Regions from separate parts of the Homo sapiens genome. Here regions 1 and 3 are each linked to region 2. Evidence: promoter capture Hi-C in human tissues and cell types (Jung and others, 2019). All regions are on one chromosome and are shown on one strand. The core of a region is centred on a gene start or on the middle of the fragment in contact, and the rest is flanking DNA. Distances in the headings are between cores, read along the strand shown.

Region 1 (3,960 bases), core at 447-2,946, 420 kb before region 2:
CAGAATTTGTCAAAAAGTTGACTAATACATTTCCATCTTCCCAGATACTTCAAACACACTAAAATTTCATGTTTTTAGAAAGTCATTTCAAAGCACATTGAAACCCTTCACTCTGAAAAGTTCCTACACATGGGCTAGAAAATTCTGTTTCCCAGGTTTTTAGGATGATAAAATTTTCATAGTTTTCATAAGCACTTTCAAAACATCCTGAGATACTTCACTGTGGAAGTTTTTTATATACGGATTAGAAAATTCTGTTTCCAAGGTTTGTTTTCTAGTAAGCAGATATAAGGGCTTTAAATTATTATTTATGAGTGACACATATGGTTTTCAGCAACAACAATTAAAAATACTGGAAATATTTCCGACCATTCATTTTCAAAATGCTCTCTTGAACCAAGAATTTACTTCAAAAAGCAATTACTTTCTTATGAATTGTTAAAACATTGAAGGGACAGATAAAATATGTTTAATTTTTAGAAGAGTATCTGCCAGGTAGCATTCAATTGACATTATCTCATTATTACAAATAGGGTCAGCAATCCTCAAAGTTTGTTTTTTAATGAGAGAAAAATGTCTTAGCATCAAGTCCCAGACTTTTAAGCACTTTGCCAAAAGATCACCAGTGAAGCTCTGGGTAGTACAAAAGATTTCAAAATTTTCTCCCCATTTCATTACAAGGTACTATAAAGAGTCTGCCATTGAAAGGTCTTGTGTTTTAAAAAGTAATCAGCTAATGGTATCTCATGGCAGATTAAATAGGTTGTGCTCAATGCCCTGAGAAGACAAGCAGCCAGGTAAGGTCACTGCTCTGAACCCTGCTCAGTGTCCACTCCATTCGACCCAAGTGTCAACTCGTGTTAAATATTAGGAAGCTTCACTCCTTTGCTTTTTGACTTAAAAATTAGAAACAGAAGTTCTAATAATTTTCTTTGACACACCAAGGAATCAATTGTGTAACCCACTTTGGAAATCACTGCTCTAAATAATTTATTCGGGAAAATACTTTTGATGCCATGAAGAGAGAAAAATGCTCAGGCAAAAAGAGATGACATGAGAGACTTGAGTAACAGAGTCCAGTGGGGGCTTGGAAAGGGATGCTGTCCCTGCTCCCAGGGCCAAGGCCAGCCCCGGGGATTGCGGGGGGAAGAATCCCCAGGTCAGTCTTGGGCGGCTCTGAGAAATTGTCTTCAGTTTCATTTTGCACTGTGATGCCAACAAGCCCAGTGTTCTCAAGCATCCAGGAAGGTAGACATAAGGGGCCTCCCAGAACCCCACCCACACTCCCCAGTGTGGCCTGTGGAGCTGCCTGGTGACCTGAGAGTCAGGGACAGGCCAATAGTAGGTGAATATGAGAAGCACACAGTCATAAGCTCCAATGGCTCACAATGCGGAAATGTGGATGACTTGGCAAACACAGCAAGAGAGACAACAGCAAGTCCAGAAGGAACAGTGTATGGCTCAGAAGAGGCGCGACAGTGATGACAATGAACCAGGGCAGTCCCCACCAGCACTGTCCACCCGCACCATTATTCTCACTGCCAAATCAGAGAGGCTCCTCCAGGAGAAGGGGACAGGGGAAACACAGCATGGCCGTGGCTGCATTCTCTGCCCCCACACAGAAGGGGAAGTGCAAAATGAAAATTAAGTTCCGCTGCAGTCAAAAAAGGCTGTGTTGTTTCCACTTCTGAATTTGTGGTTTGAGGTAAGTACCCACCACATGCATTGGTACCTTGTTACCCACACAGAGCTGTGCAAGGATACACTCCAAGCTGTGAACACGGAGCCTGGGACTGGAGGTGGTGTGGGGTGGGGAGAATACTGCTTTACACATCTTTGAACTGTTTTTCTTATTATAATGGCCATGGATAACTTTCGTATCTCAGATAAAATATAATTTAAAAATATGTATGTAGAGCACGTATGAGCAAGGCAGCCAGTTTTGGGAATGAAGCTATGGCTACAGATTCCCCTAGAAGACCCAGTCATTGTCCCAGGGGCACTGTGGTCACCACAGACCCACAAGTGCACGTCCATGGAGAGTGTCGTGACTCTGCAGGATGCTGTGCCAGAGAAAGGCACACAAGAAGCAGCACCTGATGCTTCAGTCAACTTCACAGAATTTTCTAAAAAATGCTTCGTAAAGAAGACCACCAAATCTGCTGAGAAGAGAGGATGCTGAAGAAGTGGCAAAAGCATAAAGCCACGCTATGAAAGCCTTATTTCCTTCTGAAGGGGAAAGAAAGAGGGTCAGACGTCCCAATACACTCAATAGCCTCCTTCGACCTTGTTCTTATTTTGTTCGGTCTATCCCCAGAAATCAAAGGAGAGCATCTTGGATATGTTGCAAAAGAATTAGGAGAATGTTGAATAACACTGCAGGTGATAAGCAACCTTACAATAAGCCTACCAAGCTGAGGAAATTTTTGAAAATGGTATTGCTTTGCCAGGTTAAAGCCTACCATAGGAGAAAAAGAAGTTGTCCTAAAAGCAATGTGGTATCTTAGACTAGAACTGAGAGCAGAAAAGGGACATTAGTAGAAAAACTAGTGAAATTCAAATAAAGTCTTGGGTTTAAATAGTAATGTACCATTGTCAGTGTCTTCGTTTTGACAAATGTACCATGGCAATGTAGGATTTGATTAGATGAGATAATCAACATCAAGGGAAACTGAGTAAGGGGATAGATAAGAACTCTCTGTCCATTGTTTAATCATCTAAAATTATTCCAAGTGAAAAGTTTATTTTTAAAAAACAGAGATACTTGCCAAGGATAAAACATCTAGTCCAAGGAAGAGGAAGATGAGGATGAAGTGGTTGAGGATGGAGTTGAGGAATTAGGTAGTCCTTTTGGGAAGCTGCATTGTCACCTGGAGTGACAATTTCCCAACTTAGAAGATGTTCTCTTCTCTGAAGGAATTAACTGCCCTACACACATCTCACTTGGTTTTTTAAAAATTGAAATAATAAGGATGTGTAGATAATTTTTGTGTAGTAAGCCTAGTATTAAGATTAAAACATTATGAACCTATCTTTTAGAGGTATTTGCAATAGACACTGACTTTGTATCTTACAGTATGGGGCTGTAAATTGACACAGAAATTTAAAGCAGGTCACATATAACACAAACTATATTTGGAGTAGTAGTTTTGTTTTTGATGCAACTTGTATTAACTCTTCTATGAACTTAATACCAGCTTATAATTGCAAGAAAAAAGATCCTGTTTTTTTGACATTCTGAATGCTTCTAAGTATATACAGTATTTTCAAATTTTAATAAAAACATGTGCTTTAAGGAAAAAATAAATATATGTAAACTGCTTCCAAAAATCTTGACCATTCTGAAAGGTAATACGATATTTCATTGTTGTCTGAATTGATGTTTTTATTATTAAGTATTAACTTTATAATCAGGAACATGAACAGAAAAATACACTTTAAGCCCACACAGGAATACACAAACTGGAGAGGAGAGAAACCGTCTGGACATGATGCTTAAATTTGGGTGGAGAGGACAAAGGAAGCACTTTCTATGGGAACAGAAGACGTGCTTCTCCCAGGAGGGTACTCTGACAGGTGTGGGGTGCGGGAGGGGAAGGGCAGCAGATAGCCTTTTGTACCAGGGTGTTGTATTGGTTTTTACATTTTTATAACAACAATAACTGTTATTAAAATAATAATAATTGCAAAATTTTCAAAAAAGTTTTAGTTGAAAATTCCTTTTTATTCCCCAATCTCATTTCCCAGAAGTAACCACTGGTAACTGCATATTTTTGGGCATCCTTCCAGACCCTTTCTATGCATATATAAGAATATAACTTTAACAGAAATAAATCAGATTGTACATAATATTGTATAATTTGCTTCTTTTTGTCATAAAACAATACATCATGAACATTTTCTCACTCTTTGTGTATGTAGACCTAATCCATTCTTTTGGGAAGTGGTATTGCATTTCTT
Region 2 (3,992 bases), core at 479-2,978:
TGGGGGCTGGGTAGGAGGAGGGAGGCCCGGATTCCTCACTACACCCGGAGCCGGCGCCGCAATGCTGACCGCGAGACCCGCACCCCTCCAGGGCGGGAAGCAGGTTTGGTCACGGGCCCCTGAGGAGGAATCGTAGCTCTCCGAGCCCAGGCCTAGTCCTCACCACCCCACTCCACCACCCACCCTCCCGCCTTGTCCCGTCCTCCTCGCCTTCAACACCTCCCAACCCCCAGTTTCCCTGTGCTCGCTGGTCTTTCCCAACTTCCGGAAAGACGACTGCGGAGGGACTCCCCCAAAGCGACCGCTGTCAGCCCCCCAACTCGGCCCAACTTCCCGAGATTCCTCCCGTGTTGCTCCCAACTCCCACCCACTCCCCCTCGGCGCGCCCACTCCCCCTCGGCGCGCCCCCTCCTCCTCTGCGCTTTCATCTTCTCTCCCGGTTCTCTCTCTCTATCCATCTCTTCCCGCTCAGCATCCCCCTACCCCCCGCTGCCCACGCTTCTTCCCTCGGCTCCCACCACCCAGACCGTCTGGGCCCCCAAGACTTGGACCACGCAAAACTCTAGGACTGTCCAGGATGGGGATGCAGTCGCCACAACCAGATACACACGCACTCACACATACACCAAGGGCTACACAGACACACACCGGAGAAGCAGGCAGACACTGTGTCCACTCTAACAGGCTGACAGACAGTCGTGCACGCACCAACACACGCTCAGATGGCCCCACACACCCCAACACCCTCTCACAGTAACACCGACACCGTGCCAGGCGCACACAGCGACACACGCTGACAACACGCACCCACACACATTCACACACGGTTCCGGTCCGGCCTCTTTGATCTTGCCCTGCCAACTTGGCGAGCCCCCCGCTGTACCTCCCCCTGCCCCCCGCTGCTCTGAGCTGCGCAGAAGGGCCCTCCCGACCCGCCGACGGCCCCGCTAAGGGCGCGGGTCTCGACGCGCGTCCATCCCGGTGTTCCCCGAAGCGTCGGCCCTAAGTGTCGGTAGAGGCCGCGGGGCCCCGCGCGGAGATCGGAGCCCCGGGGAGCGGCAAGCAGCCAGCGGGAGCGCGGCGCGGCCGGTGCACAGCTCCTCCGCCGGGCGGCGCGGCGCGGCCCTTCGGGGGAGCACCGCCCGCCGAGCCCCTCGGCCCAGGGAAACGCCAAGTTTGGACGCCGCGCACCCCCTGCCCCGTTGGGGCCCCCGCCCAGCCTCGGCCCGGCCTCCAGCCGCGCTTACCGATGTGGATGATGGAGTCGGCCCGCACCGACACGCACTGGCATATCCAGGGGAGAAGCCACAGCGTCAGCGCTTCCATGTCCCCCGGGCGCGCGGCTCATCCACCCGGGCCCGGGGCGAGGCCGAGGGCAGCGCGAAGCGGGGAGGCGCTGGTCCCGGTGCAGTCCCGGGCCGCTCCCCGGGAGAGCCGAGCCCGCCCGTGCGTCTTCCCCCGCGCGCCCGCCCCTGCGCCCTGCGCCCGCCCCAGCCCAGCCCAGCCCAGCCCAGCGCGGTCGGGCTCCCGCTCCGGCTCCGGTGGCGGCTGCGGCGGTGCTGGCAGCTTGAGCCCAGGCCGGCGCGGCGGGGGCGGCCCGCGGCTGTGGCAGCGGCGCTTCCCGCGGCTAGAGCGGCTTCGGGGGAGGCTGAGGCGGTGGCGGCGGCGGCCGGGCCGGCGTGGCGGCTCTGGGCTGGCTGTGTGTCTGAGCCCCGGCGAGGAGCGAACTGCGGAGGACGCCCCCTCCCCTCCCCCTCCCCCTCAGCTCCGCTCCCCCTCCCCTCCCTGCCCGCCTCCCTCCCCTCCGCCCGCCTCTCTACCACGTGACTGCGGAGCCTCAGCCTCGCCGCGCGGCTCTCGCCCGCTCGCGGCTCGGAGGGGGCGCCGGGTGCTCCACGCTCCCGGCTCGGGGGACGCTCGGAGACCGGCACAGCGGCGGGGACCGGCCTGGGCTGCGGCGCGCCGAGCTCTGACGGTTCGGGCCTCCTTCTCCGGTTCGCCAGGGGCGGGAGAATGGAGGAGGGCCGGCCGCTAACTGCCCTCGAGGGGCTCCCGAAGCGCCCTGGCGACCTCAGCAGCCGCGCGTCTCGGGTCATGTCCCCGGCCGAAACAGACCGTTCCTCGTGGAGTGGGACCTGGGGAGCAAGAAGAGAGACCGGGGCGGGGCGCCGGGCCAGGCCCCAGGACAGCTGGGGAGCCAGAGGGGGCCGGCCGCCGCAAGCATCTCAGAGTAGAGCCCGGGCCGTGGGCTCGAACCCTGGCTGGCCGCGCGGACCTCGGCGGGCGCCCATCCCCCGCTCCATGGGCAGCGCGCTCAGCCGGGAGTCGGGCAAGAGGCTCGGACTCTGAAGCCCAATTCATGGCCGGAAACCAGCGCAGCCGTGACCGCGGCGCCTGGACGTGAGGAGCCTTCCAAGCGGCCGGCGGGCTCAGACTCCGACCCTGCACGGAGCTTTCATGTGCGAGCCCGGGCGAAGAGCCCGCTCCTCGCGGCCACAGCGGAACAGGGCTCCCTCCGCCTCCGGTGCCTGCCTCGGGCCGGCCACCACCAAAGAGAGCGTTAAGCTGTTGTGGGCTCGTGCCTGAAAGGGACTGGGCTCCATGTGGCACCCCCAAGATTTCGAGGAGACAGCTGAGCTTCCTGGGGTCTGGGACCTGGCAGAGCCTCGTTCAAAAGCTGCTCCTCCAGCAAGCCTGGGAACGTCCCCGGGCCCTGTTGTCCGCGGAGGGGCCCCAGGACTCCCGCCACGCACCAGGGGGAGAGGCTCCCACCACAGCCCTTGCCCAGAGCTCCCAGCGCAGTGGGCGAGGCAGACACCCAACCAAGTCATCTTTTAAATGTTGGGGGGGGCTATGAATGAGCTGTGTATGCTCAGATGCCTGGGCTCTGAACCAGCCTGGGAAGAAGAGCAGGGATGACTTCCTGGAGGAGATGACAGTTGTAAAGACTGAGTGGAGGTTCCCAAGGGAGAAAATAAGGCTTCCAGGCATTGAATAGTGGTGAGCCAAGGCAAAAAGAAAGAAGTGTGTGTCTGTATGTCTGTCTGTCTCTCATGTGGCCAGAGCCAAAGAGTAAGCATTGGTAGATTTCACTTTGGAAAGAAAGATTGGAGAGGATGGGCTGTGCAGAGGGGGCCAGTGGAGGCCCATAGCACTGTGAGGGAACCCTGGGTGGGCCAGCTCAGCTGGGCAGGGACAGCCTGTTGGAGCGGAGAAGCTGGATTGCAGAAGTATCAAGGAATCCCATGAGCCAGCAAGGTGACTTCTAGGTTAAGGAGGCCAGGGGGCAAGAAGAGAGGAGTGGTCATATGTCATACTTGCCCATGGGAGTGGCTGAATGTGGTCCTACACACACACACACACACACACACACACACACACACACTTCTTCCAAAAACCTGTCTTAGGGTCCTTGAGTAGTGAAACCTGACCCACCCCGCATCTCAAAACCCTCTACACCTCTAATTCTTATTCCTGCAAAATTCTACCATTCACTGGCTGAAATGCTGTAGGGAGAAGAGAAATAAATGATGAGTTTTATTATACATCAGTTTGGTTCCTACGGGGACTGTCTCCACCTTGAAAGGATGGTGGGTGTGGTCTTGACCTGAAGTCCCTGTGGGTCAGGGACTCTCCCCGGGCCTCCTGTTGTTGGGGGTTCTCCAGTGTGTTAGTACAGTGGGCATGTGATATACCCAGTTAGAAGTTTTTCTTTGATGTATGTTTTGCTAGGTGTAGGTAGCATGATTTCAGTGGGATAAGTATTAAGACCTCCTTCCAAGTATTAAGAAGACAACCCACCAACACATAGTTGTGGAATGATTTCCATCAAGTTCCAGTTTGGATGATGAGGTGGGTGATGAGGTTCCTGTGGCTTGGCATCTGAGGATCATGACTCAAGGTGGATCTCATCTGGAAGTTGTTGACCTGGGGCAACCTCACCTTCTGTCCTGGGTGCCTCCTTCCTCTCCAGCTTCCAGGGCGTGTGGTAG
Region 3 (3,971 bases), core at 608-3,107, 340 kb before region 2:
TATTGCATAATTTATATACGTTTCACACTATTTGTTTGGGATATAAGCGCCACACCACAAACTATTTGCATATAGATGGAGAGTTATAAACATATGCTTGTATTTGATGAGTAATATCTGAAACACACACGCATACATATTGCTCTTACAAGCGCAGAAATGCTTGCTTTCTGCCACAACTTCAAGTGCACAGTGATCCTTTAACAGTTTGTTAATTTTCAAAATTTACAATACTGAATTGTCCATTTCTGAACATATAAATGATTTTCAACTGCTTGATGAGCTGTGGCTGTCAAGTTTCAGAGGAACGGAGGATGAGGGTTTCAAGCAGCTTTACTTCAGAGAAGCTAGGACTCAGGCTCGCTTTTGTTGAAATCTCCACTGGTGCTGGCTGTCAAAGAGAAAGCCATTCCTTCGATACAGTTTGCCATCTACAACCAAGTCAACTATGTCAGTGACAAAAACCTAATATGTACTTAACAAACACACACTCAGCTTCTACTCTTTGCCAGACACTGTACTCAGCATAGGGGACCCAGAACTGAACCTAACTGGTGAGAAGCAACCCAGACCTACCCTGGAGCCAGCACATAGTAAATGCTCAATAAACAACAGTGGCTATGCTGGATGACCAGAGACTGGTGCTTATGGTGGCAGGTCCAGCCCTCATGTGGAGACGTGTGGGGTGTGAATCCCAGTTCAGCACATGCTGGCCTGGGACTGGAGAAAATGCATGACATGCTCTCAGCCTCTGTTCCTGGCCTGTAAAGTAGGAGAGCACCACTCTCACAGCTGCGTGGAGACAAAGAAACAACCTGTCTAAAGCATGCTGGGCTAAGTCTGGCTCACAGTGGGGCCATGGGAGGCAGGACAAAGAGCTCCACTCAGAAGGAGCAGCCTGTCTTGAGGGTCTCCTGGAGTAAAATCCCAGACTTCTCTATCTGATTATTTTCTAATTGTGGGAAAATATACATGACATAAAATCCACAATTTTAATCATTTAAAGTATAAGATGCCACAGCATTTAATACATCAACTGTGTCTAGTTCTGGAATATTTTTATCACCCCCAAAGGACAATCTTATATCCATTAGCAGTCACTCTCCATTTTTCTTTCTCCGCAGCCCCTGCAACCACTCATTGCTCTCTGTCTCCATGGATTTGCCTGTTCTGGACATTTCATATTAATGCAGTCATGGGATAGTAGTCCTTTTTTGCCTGGTTTCTTTCACTTAGAATAATGTGTTCAAGTTTTATCCAAGCTGTAACATGTGTCAGAACTGCATTCCTTCTCACGGCTAAATACTATTTCATTGTATGGATATGCCACATTCTATTTATCCATTGAGCAGTTGACAAATATTTGAATTGCTTCCATTTTTTGGCTGTTGTGAACAGTGCTGCTATGAAACCCTTATCTGATTTTAGTGGCTGAGACAGCTTTAGTTCCAGTTTTTCAGGTGTTATATTCCTGAACTCAGATCATCATATCCTGCTTAGGGAGTCTGCAGCTGCTTCTCCCAAGGTCCATTTGAGACCAAGTTTCCTTCAGGAAAAGCCACAGCTGACGGCTTCCAGTCACATACATTGTTTGCCTTTGTTTTGCCTACACATCAGACATCTTGTTTCCTCAGCTCAGGTTTCCTAATTGATTTATTGGCATAAAATCAACACTCACATTATCACAACAGTCATTACAGAAACTGCTCATCATTAACCTGTACCTATTACCATCATGAATTTCTCATTGGCTGTATATAGACAAGAGAATAAACATTGATGAACACTGGGTTTGTACCAGGCTGTGTGCTGGCTCCTTTATGTACATCATCTGACTAATCCTTCTAACCACTCCTGGAGGTAAGAGTTAATACCCCGTGATGTATGGATGAGAAAATTCGGCTCAAAGATGTGAGGGGACTCTTCTCAAATTACACATCTCACAAGACGCTGAGATGCCATTCACCCACCAGGTGTGTGTGGCTCTAAAGCTGCCTCCTGCATCTCCACCCAATACTTCCTTGACAAATAATTATGAGCAAGGAGCCACCCTAGCCTGCTCCCACTGCATATGTGTGCTGCCCCACCAAACTGTGCACTACAGCAGCTGTGCAAGTAATCAAAGCTTCCATCTTTGTATGCTGTTTGGGGGCAACTCTACCCCTTTCATTCTGGGAAGGTTATGGAATTTTATATACTCATCAAGGCTATGGAATTAAGGTCCCAGGCCATGGGATTAGAAGCCAGGGTCACTGGTATGGACCGATTTACTGTCTGACTTCAGGTGAGTCAGTCCACCGAAGTGAACTGGCCCTGGTCTTCCTACAACAAAACAGGTATCTGTTATCTGCCCTGGAATGCTCTAGAAATGATGAGAACTATCTTTAGATATTGGAATCTTTAAATATTCATGTGCAGATTCACATGGAATAGCTGGGCTCAAACCTAGAGAAGGGGGGAGCATGTGATGCTCAGTCTTTACCAGAGATGACTTGCTCAGGACAGCCAGGGCTCCCCTCAGCATACCTCTTAGCCAGTGCCCAGGGCACTGGAGTATCCACCCTTCTCTCTGAAAAGCCACCTGGTAGGAGGGACTCTGGGAAAGGGCCATTTTCATCTCAAATGACAGGTTTGTAACTAAATAAAAATTGTGTCATCATGAGCAAAATATTTATACTTAAAAAAAAAGTCCCAGCTCTTCTAGTAGACTTCCAAATTGTAAAATCTAAAGGTAAGAAATGTCCCATGAATTCTGAAGGATGGGAGGCAAGAAAGCTGATTGCTTTATGCTCCCCACTTAGCCCTTACAGCAACCCTTCTGATGCCAGTCCCCAGATCCCTTCTCCTCCCTTAAGCATCCCTCTAATGCTATACTATGGCTATCCACAGTGTCTGTGTGCTGGTGAGTCCCCAGGTGTACCTGCAGCTCCAGCCTCTCCTCTCATCTCCAGCATAGTAGATCCAGCTGCCTCCTTCAAGCTTCTAATTGGATTTCTCAAATTTAACATTTCCAAAAACACACTGGTTTCCACTTCCCCCCAAAACCCACTCCTCTGTCCTCCTTGTCATTGTAGCAAATGGTCTCACCATTCTTATAACTCAGGCCAAAAGTGATGGCACTGTCCTTGACTCTTCTCTGAAGACTCACATCCAAGCTCTAAGAAGATTCTGTCAATCTGCCTTCAAAATACATCCAAAATCTAGGAGAGGATCACCCAACTCACAGGTATTTGAGAATATGAACCCATGTCTGAGCTCACCTTTAAGAGGTCTTATCTGAGATTCCTTGTGGAACAGAGTTCCATCAAAGCCAATCCAAAAGGCCTAATAATCATTCTTGTACTTTATGCAAATAATCACGCCAAGTATAAGACTAAAGTTTATTCTATGAACAACATGTCCCATCATAATTTGTTTTTACCAAAAATGAGGACTGGAGAGAGAAATTATACTCCAAAGCTTATCATACATTTGTCATTAAATCCTAGTCACATTAATTATTTTTAAGCTTTTTGCCTATATTTAGACTAACCTTGCTTATTCTTGTGAATCTAGTGGTGATCTTCTGAAGCTTGAAAAAAACAAAAAGGGATGGGTAACATAGAAATCTGGATCAATATGCTAGTTCTGGGCAATTAACCTGCAAATTCTGCCAGGTAATGAAAGTGAGTAGGGTGTCCATAACCCAGAGGTTTCTTTGTTTGGGAAAATAAAACCAAGGAACTTCATAGACCCCCAGAGGGAAATTCTATATCTTGGCAAGTAAAATTTTAGAGGGAAATAATCTACTATGTTACCCTTGCAGGAATTGCTATACTTACTCTACTATTTGCAGTAGAGCTATACATGGTAGCACCTTCTAACTGAAATATTGGACAGAGAATTTCCATTGCTGTAGAATTTTGCTTAATTCTTCTCTTTAAAGAAGGGATAATAGTTACCAACAAAAAGGAAGCATGAAAGTTTTACTA

Evidence for each region. Contacts are between HindIII fragments. The study calls those that stand out against the background at their distance.
Region 1: a fragment that was not itself captured here is called in contact with the fragment with the promoter of GRID1 in region 2 in 1 of the 25 tissues and cell types used here (dorsolateral prefrontal cortex).
Region 3: a fragment that was not itself captured here is called in contact with the fragment with the promoter of GRID1 in region 2 in 1 of the 25 tissues and cell types used here (dorsolateral prefrontal cortex).

What each region holds. Positions count from the first base shown.
Region 1 is chr10:85,945,539-85,949,498 of GRCh38, forward strand. The region is part of intron 4 of GRID1 (glutamate ionotropic receptor delta type subunit 1); the gene reads right to left. Among named protein-coding and RNA genes, the nearest start is that of GRID1-AS2, 300 kb to the left of the region's middle. RefSeq lists an enhancer at 1,325-1,664. The HindIII fragment of the contact is 5,837 bases long and covers 1-3,960 here.
Region 2 is chr10:86,365,067-86,369,058 of GRCh38, forward strand. GRID1 (glutamate ionotropic receptor delta type subunit 1) reads right to left here and starts at 1,729. Exons shown (of 16, transcript NM_017551.3): 1 at 1,248-1,729. The coding sequence starts at 1,326. RefSeq lists silencers at 1,038-1,187, 1,218-1,417, 1,648-1,697, 1,718-2,107, 2,218-2,427. The HindIII fragment of the contact is 18,696 bases long and covers 1-3,992 here.
Region 3 is chr10:86,026,146-86,030,116 of GRCh38, forward strand. The region is part of intron 4 of GRID1 (glutamate ionotropic receptor delta type subunit 1); the gene reads right to left. Among named protein-coding and RNA genes, the nearest start is that of MIR346, 240 kb to the right of the region's middle. The HindIII fragment of the contact is 3,252 bases long and covers 232-3,483 here.